3 separate regions of the Homo sapiens genome follow, and all the other regions are linked to region 1. Evidence: promoter capture Hi-C in 16 types of primary human blood cells and fetal thymus (Javierre and others, 2016). All regions are on one chromosome and are shown on one strand. Each heading gives the region's core, a stretch centred on a gene start or on the middle of the fragment in contact. The rest is flanking DNA. Distances are from core to core; before and after follow the strand shown. Region 1 holds the start of CADPS2 (calcium dependent secretion activator 2). Region 2 overlaps SLC13A1 (solute carrier family 13 member 1). Region 3 has its middle 63 kb from the start of TAS2R16.

Region 1 (2,845 bases), core at 167-2,666:
TATGGATTAGGCAGAAAAATAGGTAAGACTCCTCAGGAGTAAATGCCTCCTTGTCTTTTACCCATCTAGAGAGAATGTCAGTAAGTGCAGAAGTCTCTCTTGTGTACCTAACTATATGAAAGTGGCCTGAAAAAGCTAAAACTGCTGTTTGACCATGGTGGTAGAGGAGCTCAGAGCTGGTAGTTAATTTGCCCTGTGTTATTTCCACTGAACTTCATCACCTCCCTGCCCACCTGGTCGCTGCACACTCCACCTGGTGTTGAATGCATTGTTTTGCCTATTTCCCCCTCTGTCAGGACTTAGGACATAAGATACAGAATTACTATAAGAAACTCCTAGGTGGTTCCAGCACTAGGACTGAGAAATCTGCGCAGATAAGGCAGGCTTCAGCGCAGCTACAAGACGCCGACTTGAGGCCAGAACCACCAGCGACTGAGTGTCATGTGCCTTAGTCACCGCGGGCTCCGCAAAAGGCTAACAGTGCTGGACACCGGGAGGGCGCTCAAATCTTTGTTGAATAAATGTCCACACTACACAACCTGTTTTGAGTCAACTGCATCCCAACCCAGAAAATAATCGAGATATGTTTGAGCTGAATCAGTATCATTTTGCACATATAAAATCTCTCTTGCCTTGAGTCTGCAGGACTAGAACAGTTTAAAAAGTAAGCCTCGTTGGTTTTCTTTTTTTTTTCATTACTCCGACTTTTATAATTTGGGCTTCAGCATGAGTATCAAAACGGCAGCAGAGCAGAGTGAGACTTTTCAAAGTCTTGTCGCAAAGATACTTCGTGGTGAAGGGCTCCAGTCCCGCTTTTCCGCGCTGGGGTTCAATCCTAGGCAGCCGATTCGGGTTGGGGAGATGTCTCGGCCGCTCCCCCTAACCTCTTGCTAGGGAACAGTCCCTCCCCGCTCCCCATTCCACCTCCACCTGCTGGAGAAAAGATCACAGGTGGTAGGGTGAGGGTAGTCGGAGCAGCCCCGGTGGACGCTTACACGGGCCATCGCGCTCGGCCGCTCCCCGCCTTTGCAAACTGTGTGCTAGGGCTCCAGGCGGGCCCGGGCAGCAGCGGCGGCGCGCGCACGCGCACTCCGCGGCCCCGCGCGGCTCTTCAACATTCAATTCCACGTGTTGCTTGTTGTAGGCGCCACAGGTTCCCCACCTGCGTCCGGGCGCTCGGGCGGCTCCGCCTCTGCCGGCGGGCTCTGGGGAACCGCTGGGTCGGCGCGCCCGGGGCTGGCGGAGCAATTCCTGAGGCGCCCAAGCTCACCCCCAACGCTAACTCCGCCTATTCAGTCCCGGCGGCTCCCCCTCTCCCCCCTCCCAATCCTCCTCCCGGCTCCTGCCCGCCCCTTTCGCCCTGGTGGTAGGAAACACTCCTGAATCTAACTCGACGTGTCCGGAAAGCCCTGGCCAGTTTTCCTTTCGTTCTGCGGCCGCTGCAGCCAGCCCCGCGGCTCCCTCAGACCCGCGGGCGCAGCCGCCGGGGGTGAGGCGCTTGGGGACCGCGGGCCGAGCGGCGGGGATCCCCGAGCACCATGCTGGACCCGTCTTCCAGCGAAGAGGAGTCGGACGAGGGGCTGGAAGAGGAAAGCCGCGATGTGCTGGTGGCAGCCGGCAGCTCGCAGCGAGCTCCTCCAGCCCCGACTCGGGAAGGGCGGCGGGACGCGCCGGGGCGCGCGGGCGGCGGCGGCGCGGCCAGATCTGTGAGCCCGAGCCCCTCTGTGCTCAGCGAGGGGCGAGACGAGCCCCAGCGGCAGCTGGACGATGAGCAGGAGCGGAGGATCCGCCTGCAGCTCTACGTCTTCGTCGTGAGGTGCATCGCGTACCCCTTCAACGCCAAGCAGCCCACCGACATGGCCCGGAGGCAGCAGAAGGTGAGTTGCGGGACCGGGCGCCTCCTACCACCACTTCTCCCTGGGTTTTTCTCCCGGGAGAGCTCTGGGACGCCTCCCGTCCTTCTGCGAAACGCAGGACACCGTATTTTTGTTAGTCTCTGAGGGCAGAGGAATCTTTGGGGACAAGACGGTGCTTTCACCCGCCGGGTATGCGGCTGCAGCGGACACCTCTTCTCCTCCTCCCCGCCTGGGCTGGCAGGAGCTGTCAGCTCACCATCCGTGAGACAGAGACCGACAGCGCCGGCCGCGCCGCGGTTGCACCCGGCAGGCGCAGCTCTGGCCGGATTAGAATGCAACTCCCATCAACTTTAATTTCCAACAGCACTGGTGCATTCCTGTCCACCTAGCCTGGCGTGATATTGCTAGAGCTGGGTTTGCCGAGGGTCTGAATGAGTGTTGTAGCTAGGCGAAACAGGTGGAGCCCGAGTACTTCTCTTAGCTAGAGTGAAGTCTTCACTTAAGAGGGGTAGAAATTTTCCTCAGTGAATAAAAAAGTTAAATTAATACGTTTCCTATATTGTCATACAACCAGGACATCAAATCCAAACACCGAGAAGGCATGCAGCTTTGTAAAGTGTTTGTGGGTAAGTAATTTCTGGTCTGGGCAGGCCTGATTAATGAAATATACTATTACTGATGAAAGATAAAGGATTGGTGCATGATCACTTCATAACAAATGCTTTCCAAATGCTTTTTTGGGGAACAAAATGCTTATTCTCCCCCAAAAGGTAAGAAGTTTGTTTCAGGTGAAAGGCTGGCCAACTTGAGTTTCAAAACAAGACCCCAGGGGCCTGATGTTCTGTACCAGACACGAGTAATGACTCAAATTGTCCTAAGTGGTTAAATGTTTACAATACAAACTCTAGGAAATCTTTTTAATAGAATGCTGAACCTGGAAGGTTCTGTAGAAATCGGTAACAGTTCCCTCAGTTTGTGACAAGACCTAG
Region 2 (2,845 bases), core at 149-2,648, 240 kb before region 1:
ACCCCATCTGTTCCTGAATCAGTCTTAATTTATATGGTGATCATTTGTGAGCATTGGCTAAACCACTCCAACAATTAATATTCTTGATTGAATTTCATGGGGTGCAAAAAATTAAGTAGGTTGCTTTCCTTTGTATGATATGGTTAGAGCTTATAAACACAGAAGCAGGTGTGATATCTCAGAAAACAGATCAATTCCTTTTCACAATTTATAGAAGAGCTTTAGAGGAACACAGAAATATCACGCCTTGCCACAATTTAATAGAAGGATGTTATAAATCAATTATATGGGGCTTTCCATGCTCTAGCAATGTTTCAACTTCAAATCTTGATCAATATTATTAAATTAAATAATTCAAAGAAGAAATTGTTTAACAAATCTGTAAGCTTATCTAAAAGGGAAATTTGCCACTTTGGCCTAGTATGTCAGCATGTGTATACGTGGTATTGAAAATAAGAAGAGATATATGGGAACAATAAGACTATGGTCTGAGATTATTGTTTTTAGTGTTGTGTCATTTAATCGGGAATCCATATATTTTAGGGCAGATTATTGAGGATAAATAACCTACACCACCTACTACTGATAATAACCTATTACTGATATGTTATTAGCAAAATTGGTGTTTTAGCTCATTTAAGTTCTTGATGCTATTTTTAATACATGTATTTGTCCCTTTTACAGGTACCCTGGTTTTGCTACAGATTCAACTGTTGCTTTACTTATAGGGCTGCTATTCTTTCTTATCCCAGCTAAGACACTGACTAAAACTACACCTACAGGAGAAATTGGTTGAGTATCATTTATAATTCTGCATAAATTTAACAGAAGAGCAAAAATTACAAAATTCCATTGGTTTCGCTTGGCACCTAGAGCAGAAAGAAAGTCTATGCTGGCACAATCCCTGGCCTAGCATGCCCTATTTGCAAACTGCAATGCTGTCTTCAAGCCAGCACAGCTTCCACCTTCAAGAGAGATCGTCTTACTTTGCAGAAGTGAGAAGTAGATTTCCTTTTGTATCATGGCTAGGGCTCTGCTACAAGCGATACTATTTGACCCATGGTAAACTCACTTCAAAATTAATCTTACTATTGGCAAACAGAGGAAAAAGAACTTGGAAGACACTGCTTCATTATGATACCTTGGTAATAAATGCAGAGGATCTAAAAAGGTGATGAATTTCAAGAGAAAGAGTATTTACATTCTCAAAGTAGTTCTGGAACAAAAGCTAAATAAACCTCACATAGCCATATCCTAGGATCACAGCTGAAATAAAAGGGCCAGATGTGGTGGCTCACACCTGCAATCACAGCACTTTGGGAGACTGAGGCAGGAGGATCACTTGAGGCCAGTAGTTTGAAACAAGCCTTGGCAGCATGGTGAGACCCCAGCTCTATCAAAAAATTAAAAAAATTAGCCAGGTGTGGTGGCCAATCTGGAGGCCAACGCAGGAGGATCACTTGAGCCCAGGAGTTGGAGGCTGTAGTGAGCTATGATTGTGCCACTGCCCTGGGCAACAGAGGGAGACTCGGTCTCTAAAAATAATGATAGTAATAAAAATAAAGAAAAGGTATTCTGTGACAGCATTCATTGTATTTACAACACATGAACAAAGAAGTGTGCACATTTGCCTGAGCATACCATCCTCTCAACACACACACACACACACAGACACACACACTTTTTAAACACAAGATTCATCCATATCTTTGCTTTACAACACAGCATGTTTTGAGTAGTCAGATTCCTATCTTGTCAATGTGGGACAACTAATTTGTAATTGTCTGGAAATTAACTAGTAGACTTGTGGTTTTGTTTGTTTGTTCTTATGGGGATGGAACTGGGATTTATGTAGTTGTGTTGGCCCACTTGACTCTTGTCAGAATCTATAAATGACTAATGTATCAGATTTCCAGGACATATGTGACCAGCACAGCATAGAAACAAATGTACTTTGTTTTTCACTTGAGATTAGAATATCTCAATGTGTGTTAAGGAGGTGATGCAATATGGAGCATTGATTCCTATGGGACCCCAAGGACTCTGATCATTGCAGTCAAAGCCCTGAGGTCTGGCAGTGGCAAGTACTGAGGAATCCATGTTTGGCTTTAGCTTCCCTGGTTTCCACATCTGAATTCCCTCCCTTAGAAAGAGCCTTGCTCCTACCCACCTTTCTCTCTCCCCTCATTCTTCAAAACCTCTTCTCCCTGCTAAAGTCATTCATACAAGGCTTAAAAATGACAAATAATATATAAATATGTTAAATTTTAAATAAGAAGTACTTGTCAGAGATGTTTACATTTTAACAAGATATATGACCTTAAAGTAAGAAACCTGGTGACATAATTTCAGTTATCAGTGAGGATGGGTTTGGTTTGGATTTGGGGGAAGATGATAGGAAGGAAGCTTATTGGTAAACTTAAAATCTTACCATGTAGAAGGCTGCCTGTTATACACAAGTTAAATGGGCAGAATATGTCTCCAAATGAACTTCTTTATCAACAAAGCAATGGAGAGATCAGAAGCCAAATATAAAGAGAAATCTTTATGATAATCCTTTTATAAGCACTTTAAGAACCTCATAAATAATACTTTATTTAATCTGAATCTTGAATTATTTTTAAACTGAAATCTTGGTGAATCTATCATGATCCTCCTTATGACCTAAAAACTAATAAAATGTTCAAATATTAATGGATAATAATTAAAATGCTACAAGATGCTATTGGAACCAATGGAATATTATGGACATTTTGCATAGCAAAGAATATTATAGTCTAATGCACTGTGCTATTCACAGTTGGCAAAGATGTTAGTGGAATATAAATGAATGAGTGAGTGAATG
Region 3 (2,845 bases), core at 173-2,672, 170 kb before region 1:
GTAGCTCACCAACTTTCCTCTTCAGAGCACATACTTTTAGTGCCTTGCACAATGTCTTTTCTGTTCTATATTACTTTTAGCAAAGGTTTTTCAATTTGATGTGTAATTCAGGATAGGCTTATGAACTTTTTTCACTCTTAGACTACATATGAATAGACTTCCAAAGATGTTATAATTAACAAATGGTATTTAAATGGCATTTTTCGATAGTAAAATAGAAGGCTATGATTAATAGCCATTACTGAAATGTCAAAATATGAAACACTGTCTCAAATTCTGTAGTCTATCATTAGCCCATTTGGAGGAAAAATGTATTCCTGATATGTTGCCTTTGTTTTACACATATTCCAAAGATTATTTGAAATTATATTAGTTTCAACTTTCTGTTTAAATGAACTTATCTCAGATTAGATTAAGTAAGATATCAGATGGCTGTTTGGAATGGGCTTTTGCCAAAACAGTGTCTATTTATCGTCCCTTTTAAATCAATCTAACTCAGTTGTGTCAACCGCAGGCATAAATTAGAGTCACCTGGGAAGGCTTAATTTTTTTTAATATTAATAGAGGAGGACCCTTGAAATTTTAACTGAATTGTGCTGGAGTGGGGCTTCTAAAAGGAGCCAAGGTTTGAACCACTGAGTCTTCCTAAAAGGGAAAATGGAAGAGTCAGGGGGAACTGTAGGATCAGGGGTATCTGTTTGTATATTAGTTGATACTGCTTTATTCAATCAAAGATTTAAGGCTGATTGTGCAAAAGTTCCTTATCTGCTTTCATGTATTTACTATTCATATATATTTTCCTAAATGTGATCTATCCAAGTTTTTGTAGGAACTTTATTTTTTAGCAGGCATATGGAGGAGATAAACTTGACAGAAAAACTAAGACTTTAGATGTGAACCTCACAGACAAGCTTCCTTACATATAGATACTTTAGACAATCAGCTCAAGACTTTACCCAGGAGGGTGTAAGGACTTGTAAAGGGTGACACGCCTCAGAAAACACGATGATTCTAAAATTGCAAGTGTGGAGAGGTTATATATAATCTTCTGCTGATGCAGAAAACAATAGAAAATCTTTGAAAATAAGAGTTCTTGACTGTGCCCATGGATGTGGAAAGCCTGGGGAGAAATAGCAAAACCCATACTCCCTATTTCCCAAAGTATTGAGTTCAGCGGCATTTTTCTCATCCGATTGACACATCTTTGGCAACATCCTTCACTCCTGGCATATAACAGGTGCTCTGCGAATATTTTGGGATTTGATTAGAAAAATGGCAATAATAAAATGCTGAGTCCATGAAGACAGAAGTCTTCTTTTGAGCCTCATATAAAAGCCCACTGATTTAAAATAATGAGGAAATAATTGATTTACCCTAATAAACTCAGTCATCTTTGTACCTAGATTTCATAAAACAGCCTTTTAGAAAGACCAGCATGACTGTTGTGCTAAATGCTAGTGTTGGGAAAGAATGGCTGATGTAAGATGCAGAGCTGGAAAAACTAGAGTTTCACTGTAATCACAATAAAACCTCAAAAATTCAACTTTATCACTGGAACTTAGCAGAGTAAGAGAAGTTTATATTTTGGTCGAAATACTCTGTGTAAAAGGTAGGGAAATACCAATATACATTTAAAAGATGTGGCTTAGATATCTAAATGGCTTAAATATCCCAGTGAATAAATTCTAGGCCTCAATTATTATAAAATTTTAATTATGGAAAACAACCCATTTTCTGATAAAGCTGAATAGATAAAATGATAGCCTTTTTTCTACATGAGATTAAGACTCATGGTCCTAGAACAGATACATACACTGAATGCCCTCACTAAAACCCACATTTAATTGCCACACTTTTTCCTATTACAGTTCTAGCAATGTATTGCACACAAGTCAATGTTTGCTGCTGACTCCTGGGGGCTTCTGAAGCTTGCATGCTGACTCTGTAATTAAAAGTCCATATGAGGAAGCAACTGTCAGCTCAAGGCTTACCTCCTACTGTTGGATGTCTGTCAACTCAAGGATTTATTTTTTTTAATATGAGAAAATGTCAGTTGCCATCTGAAATAATTTTTTGATGATTCAAGTAAACATTGAATTTCTGATGATTAAATAAGAAAAACATAAAAAATACACCAATGCTTTGAAAGCAACTCATTTTACATTTGGAAAATGATTTTACTTAGGAACTCAACATATATTATAAATGTTACTTATTCCCATTTTATAGATAAAAGAATACACACACATACACACACATAAATACATGCACATATGTATATTCTAGGTTTAGAATTTTTTAATTGAAGGACTTAGAAAAACTTGGGATTCTTTTATCACTACATCTGTTCTTGTAAGTACAAAAACATTCTTAGTAAGAAAATACCATGGAGTTTAGTTGCAAAGATGATATTTATTCATTGTGAACTTTAACACTTAATCAAACAACAGTATGCTTATCCTGACTACATGCCAAAATAGCAAGATAATATTTTTTGATTCCGAAAAAATAGCTAGTTGACATGAATATATGCACATGGTTGTATTTCTTTACTGAATTCATTCATGTAAGTTTTTAATATGCCTTATCTACATTTATAACAACCAATGCTATGATTTTGATGAGAACAGAGTAATGATAATAGCTCATTTCATTTCTGTTCTACCTGTCAACTAAAACTTCAGCTCCTGTAGATTTGCATCAATGGTTTCTGGGAGTCCTATGAATCTCCATTATATTCACAAACAATTCCAACTCTGCAAGACATCGTCACTGCTCCACCACATTTCTTGCCATTGAGGTTTTCCCTAGAAAGGACCACTGGGACCATAGGACACTAACGTTT

The links. Contacts are between HindIII fragments. The CHiCAGO score rates a contact against its expected background, and 5 or more counts as called.
Region 2: a contact is called between a fragment that was not itself captured here and the fragment with the promoter of CADPS2 in region 1, in 1 of 17 cell types (endothelial precursors). The highest score is 5.5, in endothelial precursors.
Region 3: a contact is called between a fragment that was not itself captured here and the fragment with the promoter of CADPS2 in region 1, in 1 of 17 cell types (endothelial precursors). The highest score is 5.1, in endothelial precursors.

The regions. Positions count from the first base shown.
Region 1 is chr7:122,885,031-122,887,875 of GRCh38, reverse strand. CADPS2 (calcium dependent secretion activator 2) reads left to right here and starts at 1,416. Exons shown (of 30, transcript NM_017954.11): 1 at 1,416-1,877. The coding sequence starts at 1,539. RefSeq lists silencers at 1,009-1,168, 1,179-1,338, 1,409-1,488, 1,499-1,548, 1,589-1,718 and an enhancer at 2,079-2,128. The HindIII fragment of the contact is 15,066 bases long and covers 1-2,845 here.
Region 2 is chr7:123,123,515-123,126,359 of GRCh38, reverse strand. SLC13A1 (solute carrier family 13 member 1) reads left to right here. Exons shown (of 15, transcript NM_022444.4): 11 at 685-791. Among named protein-coding and RNA genes, the nearest start is that of SLC13A1, 75 kb to the left of the region's middle. The HindIII fragment of the contact is 2,020 bases long and covers 389-2,408 here.
Region 3 is chr7:123,057,206-123,060,050 of GRCh38, reverse strand. No RefSeq gene overlaps it. Among named protein-coding and RNA genes, the nearest start is that of TAS2R16, 63 kb to the right of the region's middle. The HindIII fragment of the contact is 1,017 bases long and covers 914-1,930 here.